Linked DNA regions of Homo sapiens: all the other regions are linked to region 1. Evidence: promoter capture Hi-C in 16 types of primary human blood cells and fetal thymus (Javierre and others, 2016). All regions are on one chromosome and are shown on one strand. Each heading gives the region's core, a stretch centred on a gene start or on the middle of the fragment in contact. The rest is flanking DNA. Distances are from core to core; before and after follow the strand shown. Region 1 overlaps CLPB (ClpB family mitochondrial disaggregase). Region 2 holds the start of XNDC1N (XRCC1 N-terminal domain containing 1, N-terminal like). Region 3 holds the start of NUMA1 (nuclear mitotic apparatus protein 1).

Region 1 (2,802 bases), core at 105-2,604:
TTCTACCTTTTCCACATCCTCACCAACAATTGTTGTCATCAGTGTTGTCATCACTTACAGCAAACCTAGTGTGTGTGGAGTGGTATCTCATTGTGGTTTTGATTTGCATTTCCCTAATGGCTAATGATGTGAGCATCTTTTTATGTGCTTATTGGCCATTTCTGTATCTTCTTTGGCATTTATTCATTCTTTTTTCTTTTTTTTTTTTTTTTTTTTGAGACGGAGTCTTGCTCTGTCATCCAGGCTGGAATGCAGTGGCGCGATCTTGGCTCAATCCAACCTCTGCCTCCCGGGTTCAAGCGATTCTTCTGCCTCAGCCTCCCAAGTAGCTGGGATTACAGGCACGTGCCACCATGCCTGGCTAATTTTTGTATTTTTGGTAGAGACGGGGTTTCACTATGTTGGCCAGGCTTGTCTCGAACTCCTGACCTCAGGTGATCTGCCTGCCTCAGCCTCCCAAAGTGCTGAGATTACAGGTGTGAGCCACCGCACCCAGCCATTCTTTGGCATTTATTCATTCTTAAGGCCTGTTATGAGCAATTTCTTATTAGGCATTGAGGGGGAGAAAAATGTATCATGATGACCTTTGTCTTTCAAGGAACTTGCGGTCTGGTAAGAGAATTGTAGTTAGTACAGGTGAAAAGTTAGGGCTTCACAGGCAAGGTGGCCTTTAGTTTGGGTCTGGAGATAGGTCGTATTTGTATACAAGGAGCTTTGCAGAAAGACTTTCTGGGCAGTTGGAGTAATGTAAGTAAAGACAATTTGTAATTAGTAGTAGAAAACAGTTTTATCTTCTGATGAGCTCTGAAGCAATAGTGTGAAAGCACCTGGCATAGCACTTGGCACATGATGGGCTGTCATTATGTGTTAGCTCCCTTTGCAACTCCCCTCACTTGGTCCCAGCTCTGTCTTCTAGGACTACATGGCTTCCTTTTCCTGTTCCAGATTTTTAACTCTTAGGAGACAGAGCTCCAAGCTATATGAGCCTTGGTTCCCTAAACTGTGGTTTCAAGTCTCCTCCTCATCCTAGTCATTTTAAAATGAAACAGCTAGAAAGTTTTGGTGCCCTCTCTGAATTCCAGTGTGGCATGACCATTATTGTGAGGAGCAGGGCAACCATCCCCTTTGTTAAAGATTTTATACTTCTATTAATATGGCCCGACCTTGCATTGGCTTTCTTGGCAGCTGCGTTACACTCCTAGGTTCTGTTAAGCTTGTAATCGGCCCAGCCTTCTGAGATCCATGACTTCTTCTGTCCTGTAACCCTTTGATTGGATTTGTTTGCAGAGCTTGTTTTAACCTAAAGGTAAGGACACTTTAAGGCTTTGTATTTGCTTGTGAATTTGTAATATTTGAAATGTGAATATGTACTATGTGAAAGTAGTGGTGGTGGTATGGAGACTACCAGAAAGAAGAAAGGATAGGCTTGGAATGTTCTCAGCATGCGACTAGAAGGAACTAGAACTTCCAAGAGAGAAGGTTCTAGGAAGCTTCAGGACTAAACAGAAAGTATCTTCACCCCTCAAGTAAACTCCTTTCCACTTGAGGCTTTTCCTTATTTTCTGTCAGCTGATTGGTCCCATCAGACAACTATGGTGTGCTGACGCATGCTAAATCTGGGAAAGAAGGGAAGAATTGGGCATATGAGCCCTGGAAGGCAGTGTGGCTCCATAGAGCTTGGGCTTCATCCCCGGCTGCTACTTATTGGCCTTGTAATCTTTCTTTTTCTTTTTTTTTGAGACGGAGTCTCACTCTGTCGCCAGGCTGGAGTGCAGTGGTGCGATCTTGGCTTACTGCAACCCACGCCTCCCGGGTTCAAGTGATTCTCCTGCCTCAGCCTCCTGAGTAGCTGGGATTACAGGTGCCTGCCACCATGCCTGGCTAATTTTTGTATTTTTAGTAGAGATAGGGTTTCACCATGTTGGTCAGGCTGGTCTTCAACCTCTGACCTTGTGATCCACCCACCTCGGCCTCTCAAAGTACTGGGATTACAGGCGTGAACCACCGTTCCCAGCCTGGCCTTGTAATCTTAATCAGTCATTTACCCTCTGTAAGACTTGGGCTTCTTTCAGAGGATCAAATGAGATCATAAATGTCAAGTATCTGTTGCGTAGTAGGCAGCTCAAGAAATGTGAGCTCTTTTGAACTCCATCATTCAAGAGCTTTGCAAGGCGGTGAGTTGTGCTCCCTGAGCCTGTGTAAACATCTCTGAGCACCTGTGATACTTAGTGCACTTATTTGTGCGCTTGTTTCATTTTCCCTCCTCCAGCTCAGAATAAGAGCTCCTTGTAGGCAAGATTCATGTCTGATTGACTTCGGTGTCTGTCAATGCCCAACACAGAGGCTAGCTTGGAGATGTTACTTCAGTTTTGTTGAGTGAGTGAAGGCCACACCTTTGCCCGAGGAGGCCAGGTTTTATGGTTGGCTTTTCATTGTCTCTTCTTTACTGGAAATTTTGTGAGATTCCTGAACTTCACAGAAGGTGGCTCAAGTACCAACACTGTTTCACTGTTTGAGAAATTTGAACCACTTTTGTGTCTCACTGCTGTAGTGTGACAGGTTTCCTGGCAGCCAGCCAGGAGGCCTGCTGTGGGGCCAGTAGGTGGCGCCTATGACCCTTTCCCACACCTCAGGTCCTGCACAGGCCTTTCCTTCTCACCACCACAGCTGCTGACTCTCTGGGAAATGCATATATTAATAGCTCTGGGCAGGGGTACCCAGATGAAGGTGCTTTGGGCCACTCCCTCCTGTTTATGGCCTTGTATTGTTGGACTTCCGTGTTTTATTCAGTCTCAGCCTTGG
Region 2 (2,802 bases), core at 157-2,656, 490 kb after region 1:
TACAATCTCAAGGAGCTCACCTTCAAGGAACTCATAAATCCAGAAGAAGAGAGAGACACTTATTTATCGTTTAAAACTCAGCAACTCCGGGAAGCCTTCCCTATCCCAAGCTGAAATGTTGCACACTTCTCAGTGCCACCATTATATCTCTAATGCAATGACTAGTCTTCTTGTCTGTCTCCCACCACTAGACTGTGGGCTCTTCAACGGAGGGGCCCCTTGTCTCCCTAGCACCTGGCCCAGAACCCGGAGCAAAAGTCATAATGTTTATTAAGTGAATAAATGCATGAATTCCGGCATACAATCATTTATTCATCCACTTGTTCCTTCATTCGTTGGCCAAAACTTTACTGAGCATGCATTAGATACAAAGTCTTAGAATGGAACGATAAATAAAACAGTTCCAACTTTAAGATAACTCAAAGCTATACTACTAGTGGATTAGCACTCTTTCCCGGTCTGTGTCCCCAACCCCCACCCTAGGCTTAGACAGAGTCCTCTCCCACAGTAGAAGCCCAGCCTTCCCCTGAAGAAATTCACGTCCCTCCAACTCAAACTACCTCTTAGCCCTTCGGTCCTACCCTAAGACACCCAGCTAGTAATCACAAAATCTTAACACCCCCACCCCTCCGACCTCTCTCTCTGTCCTCCATCTTCACCCTTGAGGCTAATGCAAGTCTTCTACTCCCAAGGCCGCCTCGGAGTCCCCAAGTCAGGAGTGCCTCTGACTTCGCTCTCCACGCACCCGCCCCCTAGTCAGCTCCTTCCCTCTCAGGATCTTTCCCTTCTCTCCTAAGACCCCCACCTCCCGATACCTCACTGCCCCTCCCCTCAGTCTCAGGTTGAGTCTCTCCTCGTCTCTCAACTCCGCTTACCTCATCCAGCTCCCGTTCCCCAGCAGCACCACCTCCAACCTCCACCTCCACCACTGCCGCCATCTTCACGGCTCGCCCCCTCACCGCAGTCCCCGCGCGAGCCAGCTGCTTCCGCTGCTCAAGTGCTCCTAGCCAATCGGCGGCTCGGACTCCAGCAGAGGGGGCGGGGCATCAACACAGGCGGAGACTGTCAGGGATCAGGAGGTTATCTACTTGCTGCACGTTTCAGGGTCAAGGAGAGGGGAGTACCGTGCCCTTGCAAGCTTCAGCAAGGGAGCGTTCTTGGAAAATGAGAAATTTGAATCGCATTATTTTCAGTGCAACTATTTAACCAATTCTTCCCTTTGGAGAGCCAAATGGGAGCGTTCCAAAACGGGCAACTTTCGCGACGCTCCCTCAGTCTGGGCTCCAAGGAGCGAGACGTGGGGACTAGGAACTACGTTTCCCAAGCTGCACTGAGGCTGACCCGGAAGTTTAAATTCCGCTCCCTCCACGAAAGAGTTGTAGTGAGTGAAAATAAATATTAAAACACACGGAAATGTATTTTCCTGGCTGCAGCACCTGCCATCTTGCCTCGGTAGGACTCATTTTCAAAAACAGCAGCTTCTTGAAGCCCCAGAACGCATTCCTGTGCTACGGAAGACGGAAGAGTAGCTCTCGGGGTCAGAAGGCGAAGGTCAGAAGGCCGAATTGGCGGGAGAATAGGTTTGGTGGTCCGAGATCCGAGGCAACGGTGGCTCCTCGAGGTCCACGGTCCCGGGTGAGGGGCGTTGGGATTTGTTGATGGGGAGGGGAGTGGCCGAGAGGGAGGAGGGTGGCCATCAAGGAAATGAACTGAGCAGCCTGTTCCCGATGAGCTGTGAAAGCAGCGGTGCGGCTTGAGCTCCCGAAACTGAGAGCTGAAGAGCCTTGCGGGACCTCCAGGGCACCCACATTCCGCGTCTTACTTAGGCTGTCATGCCAGTTCACACACCTCGGCACACTTTTCTAACCCACATCCTGCGGCCCCAGCTTCTGCCTTACCCTCCTTTTTATACACCATTCACTGTCCCACCCCTACGTATACCTTCATAACTGATTTTTCAGCAGCCGGTGAACTCGATACCTTGCAAGCCTGTAGCCCCAGCTCACACGCCTCTGGGCGTCCGCCTGGATCTGTCTGGTGAATGGAACTAGGATGGCCTGTGAGCCCACAGAACGTCTAGAAAAGTCAGCTTTACATTGGGACCAACAGAAAATTACAGGGAATTATCTACATCATCCACAGGCATCCCATTTACTTAAAAATAATCATTTTTATTTTGTGACACTTAATACGGAGAATATTGTAAATACTGTACACCCATCACCCTAAATTGACTACTGGCATTATGATTTATTTGCTTATTTTTTAAAAGCTAGATAATACAATAAAAGTTAAACTTACCTGTTTTTTCTACTCTCAAGCCTATTACCCTCTCATCCTCTCCAGAAGCAACTATTATGAATTAGAATTAGCTTGTGTTCTCCCAGTCCATTTTTAATAATTATATGTAGCCATGACTATATAGTATTGTATTGTGTTTCATTTTGTTTTTTAATCTGAGTGCTTTTTTTTTTTCTTTGAAACGGTGTCTCGCTGTGTTACCAAGGCTGGAATGCACTGGTTCAATCTGGGCTCACTGCAGCCTCCGCCTACTGGGTTCAAACGATTCTCATGTCTCAGCCTCCCAAATAGCTGGGACTACGTACGCGCCACCACGCCTGGGGAAATTTCATATTTTTAGCAGAGATGGGGTCATGGCCATGGTCTCGAACTCCTGACCTTAAGTGATCCACCCGCCTCGGCCTCCCAAAGTGCTGGGATTACAGGTGTGAACCACTGTGCCCAGCCTGAGTGATACAGGGTCCGGCTCTGTCGCCCAGGCTGGAGTGCAGTGGCGTGATA
Region 3 (2,802 bases), core at 153-2,652, 340 kb after region 1:
TTTTCTCTGGGTTTCAGTTTTCCAATCTGTGAAATGAAGATAAATATCCTTGACTCACAGAGCTGTTAAGAGTATCAAAAGAGAGACTGTGAAAGCACTGGGTAGGTTACTAAATGTAATAGATCTGTCGTGAGTACTAAAAAAAATGAAGCTCTAACTGTAGAGCTTTGAGTAGCGGACCACGGAGAAGGTGTGGGGAGAAAAGGGAATCTGGGGACAGATTGAGAAGGGGTTTTACTCCTTGGAAGAAGAAGGAATGAGGCACTTCACGCCCCAGGAAGTTTCCTACATCTCTAGAATTAGGGTAGCGACTGCGATTTACTCAATCTAATGCTAACCGCATGTCTTGGAAGAGGGTCTCAGTTCCTCAGAGGAAAACCAACCCCATTTCTGAGGGCGTTTCTGATCTCCCAGGTTATGCCTGGAACTTGAAGCATCCGATTTTGGGAGCTTTATGTTTGCGTTGGGGGCGGGGTTCGTTGTTTTGTTTTGTTTTTGTTTTGTTTCGTTTTGTTTTGTTTTGAGATGGAGGTATCGCTCTATAGCCCAGGCTGGAGTGTAGTTGCGTGATCACGGCTCACTGCAGCTTCAATCTCCGGGCTCAAGCGATCCTTCTACCTCAGCCTCCCTAGTAGCTGGGGCCACTGGAGCGCGCCACCAAGCCCGGCTAATTTTTTTATGTTTTTGGTAGAGACAGGGTTCGCCATGTTTCTCAGGCTGGTCTCGAACTCCTGGCCTTAAGTGGTCCGCCCGCCTTGGTCTCCCAGTGTTGGGATTACAGGCGTGAGCCACCGCTCCCGGCCCTGGGGGTGGTTCTTAAGCATCCCCAAATCTGTATGGATATATATCTCAACGCCTATCCCTCCCTCTGCTCCCCCTCGCCCAGTCTGTCCCATGTGAGTGTTGTATCTTGTTCGCTGTGAAAGGTGATGAGGGTCGGTGGGGGAAATCTCAGATCCCCGAGCAGGAAGGTTCTTAGTCGTTCTGTGAGTGCCCCTCCCTTCTCCATAGATCTCTTGTCCCCTAGAACGGGTTTCCTGTTTTCCCGCCCGACTCACCCGCAGTCGCTTCCTCTCCAGTCTTGGCGTCCCACTGCCTCAGGGTTACTCAGAGCAACTCCATGGCAACTGCTTTCGTCACCACAACCCGGCAGGCGCCATAAGTACTGACGCGATGCTTACCGGGACCTTCAGTTTGTCAGGGGCGGGGCTTCAAGGCCGCGGGTGACGCTGGGATTTGTAGTTCTCTTTGCCTTCAAGTACAGGCCGGGGTCCGGAAGCGGTGATACCCCTTCTCTTTCCCAGTGGCCCTCAAACTTCCTTTTCCCGGGTCCTTAAGCGGGCCCCGCCGACAGAGGCCAATCAGAGGGCAGCGCGAGGGGGCGGGGCCATAGTTTAAACTAATTGTGCGCTCACAGCGCTGGCGCGAGCCCACGAAGAGGTACGATTCCGGAGAATCGCGAGGCAGAGCGGGAGCGCGCAGCCAGGTAACCGGCGCGGGCCCGCGTTTGGCGTGCGGCCTGGGCACCCCTGCGGGTGCTCAGGCCTAAAAGGGGTGCTGGAGAGGCCGCTGCGAGCGGAAGGCCTCCTCCATAACCGAGTCCGAAAGGGCAGAATCTATGGGGGTAAGGTTTGTGAGGAGAGGCGCCTGAGAGGGAGGAGCCGGGGGGGGGGGGGGTGCCTTAAAGGGGAGGGTCTGTTTGGGGGCGTGTCTGTGGAATTAAATCTGAAGGTGACTGGGGTCGGGGGTATAGGGCAAGTTCCCGAAAGGCTTGTAAGCGAGGGGTCGGGTCCTGGAAAGTCTTTGCCTTTTATCGTTAACAATAGCAGTAGTTATGGTAGTGCAGTAGTCAGCATTTTCTGAGCTACACCGTCCACAATGACCTGCCAAATGTTTATCTTTTTAATCTTCTAACCACCTGTTATACTTTAAAGATGGGGAGCCTGAGGTTTATAATGTTTAGCTTGGCCCGGGTTACGTAGCCAGTGCGAGGTTGGCTCTACTTTGGGTTTATGGGTTGGGCATAAATGGGGACGGGGAAGGTGCTTTGTGGGGGCGCGCGTTGTCTTGGACTGGTCAGTGTATTTTGAGCCTCACTTTTCATATATGTAAACAATGACCTTACCTGCCTTACCTACTTCCTGGGGTGGTTGTCCTGGTCAAAACAGGTTAAGTCTTTTTTTTTTTTTTTTTTAATTTTTGTTTGTTTTTGTTTTTCATCCATGGACTCTCACAGATAACATGTTTCATACACGCACCTCGGAGAGTACAAATTTATGACTATAAGTGGTGTGACTGTGTGAAGATTGTGGGTGGGCGGGAGCCCACTGGGTTGATGCTGCCGCCTCTGGGTACTCTCTTTTGCTTACCTCTGAGTTAGCACTTGTCATTTTTTTTTTTTTTTGAGACGGAGTCTCGCCCTATCGCCCAGGCCGGAGTGCAGTGGCGCGATCTCGGCTCACTGCAACCTCTGCCACCCGGGTTCAAACAGTTCCCTGCCTCAGCCTCCCGAGTAGCTGGGATTACAGGCGCCCGCTACCACACCCGGCTAACTTTTGTATTTTTAGTAGACACAGGGTTTCACCATCTTGGCCAGGCCGGTCTTGAACTCTTGACCTCGTGATCCGCCCGCCTCGGCTTCCCAAAGTGCTTGGGATTACAGGCGTGAGCCATCACGCCCGGCCTGCCATCTGGTATTTTAAAAGTCTGCGTGTTTGTCTGCCCTTCTAGATAACGAGAGACTTTTTCGTCACTGTATCCTAATGGCTAGGCAGGATTTGCGACATGTAATGGGAATAAATG

The links. Contacts are between HindIII fragments. The CHiCAGO score rates a contact against its expected background, and 5 or more counts as called.
Region 2: a contact is called between the fragment with the promoter of XNDC1N here and a fragment that was not itself captured in region 1, in 1 of 17 cell types (total B cells). The highest score is 5.3, in total B cells.
Region 3: a contact is called between the fragment with the promoter of NUMA1 here and a fragment that was not itself captured in region 1, in 10 of 17 cell types (erythroblasts, fetal thymus, total B cells and 7 more). The highest score is 9.6, in erythroblasts.

Annotation. Positions count from the first base shown.
Region 1 is chr11:72,414,150-72,416,951 of GRCh38, reverse strand. All of the region lies in intron 2 of CLPB (ClpB family mitochondrial disaggregase), which reads left to right. Among named protein-coding and RNA genes, the nearest start is that of CLPB, 19 kb to the left of the region's middle. RefSeq lists an enhancer at 2,677-2,786. The HindIII fragment of the contact is 277 bases long and covers 1,216-1,492 here.
Region 2 is chr11:71,927,198-71,929,999 of GRCh38, reverse strand. XNDC1N (XRCC1 N-terminal domain containing 1, N-terminal like) reads left to right here and starts at 1,406. Exons shown (of 6, transcript NM_001375847.2): 1 at 1,406-1,635. RNF121 (ring finger protein 121) reads right to left here and starts at 954. Exons shown (of 9, transcript NM_018320.5): 1 at 876-954. The coding sequence starts at 938. It overlaps XNDC1N-ZNF705EP-ALG1L9P (XNDC1N-ZNF705EP-ALG1L9P readthrough), which reads left to right and starts at 1,406. Exons shown (of 11, transcript NR_172895.1): 1 at 1,406-1,635. RefSeq lists an enhancer at 1,264-1,573. The HindIII fragment of the contact is 13,024 bases long and covers 1,141-2,802 here.
Region 3 is chr11:72,079,142-72,081,943 of GRCh38, reverse strand. It overlaps NUMA1 (nuclear mitotic apparatus protein 1), which reads left to right and starts at 1,402. Exons shown (of 27, transcript NM_006185.4): 1 at 1,402-1,486. It overlaps LRTOMT (leucine rich transmembrane and O-methyltransferase domain containing), which reads right to left and starts at 1,094. Exons shown (of 9, transcript NM_001145310.4): 1 at 1,059-1,094. It overlaps LRRC51 (leucine rich repeat containing 51), which reads right to left and starts at 1,094. Exons shown (of 6, transcript NM_145309.6): 1 at 1,059-1,094. RefSeq lists enhancers at 81-1,035, 1,047-1,316, 1,036-1,991. The HindIII fragment of the contact is 5,366 bases long and covers 1-2,802 here.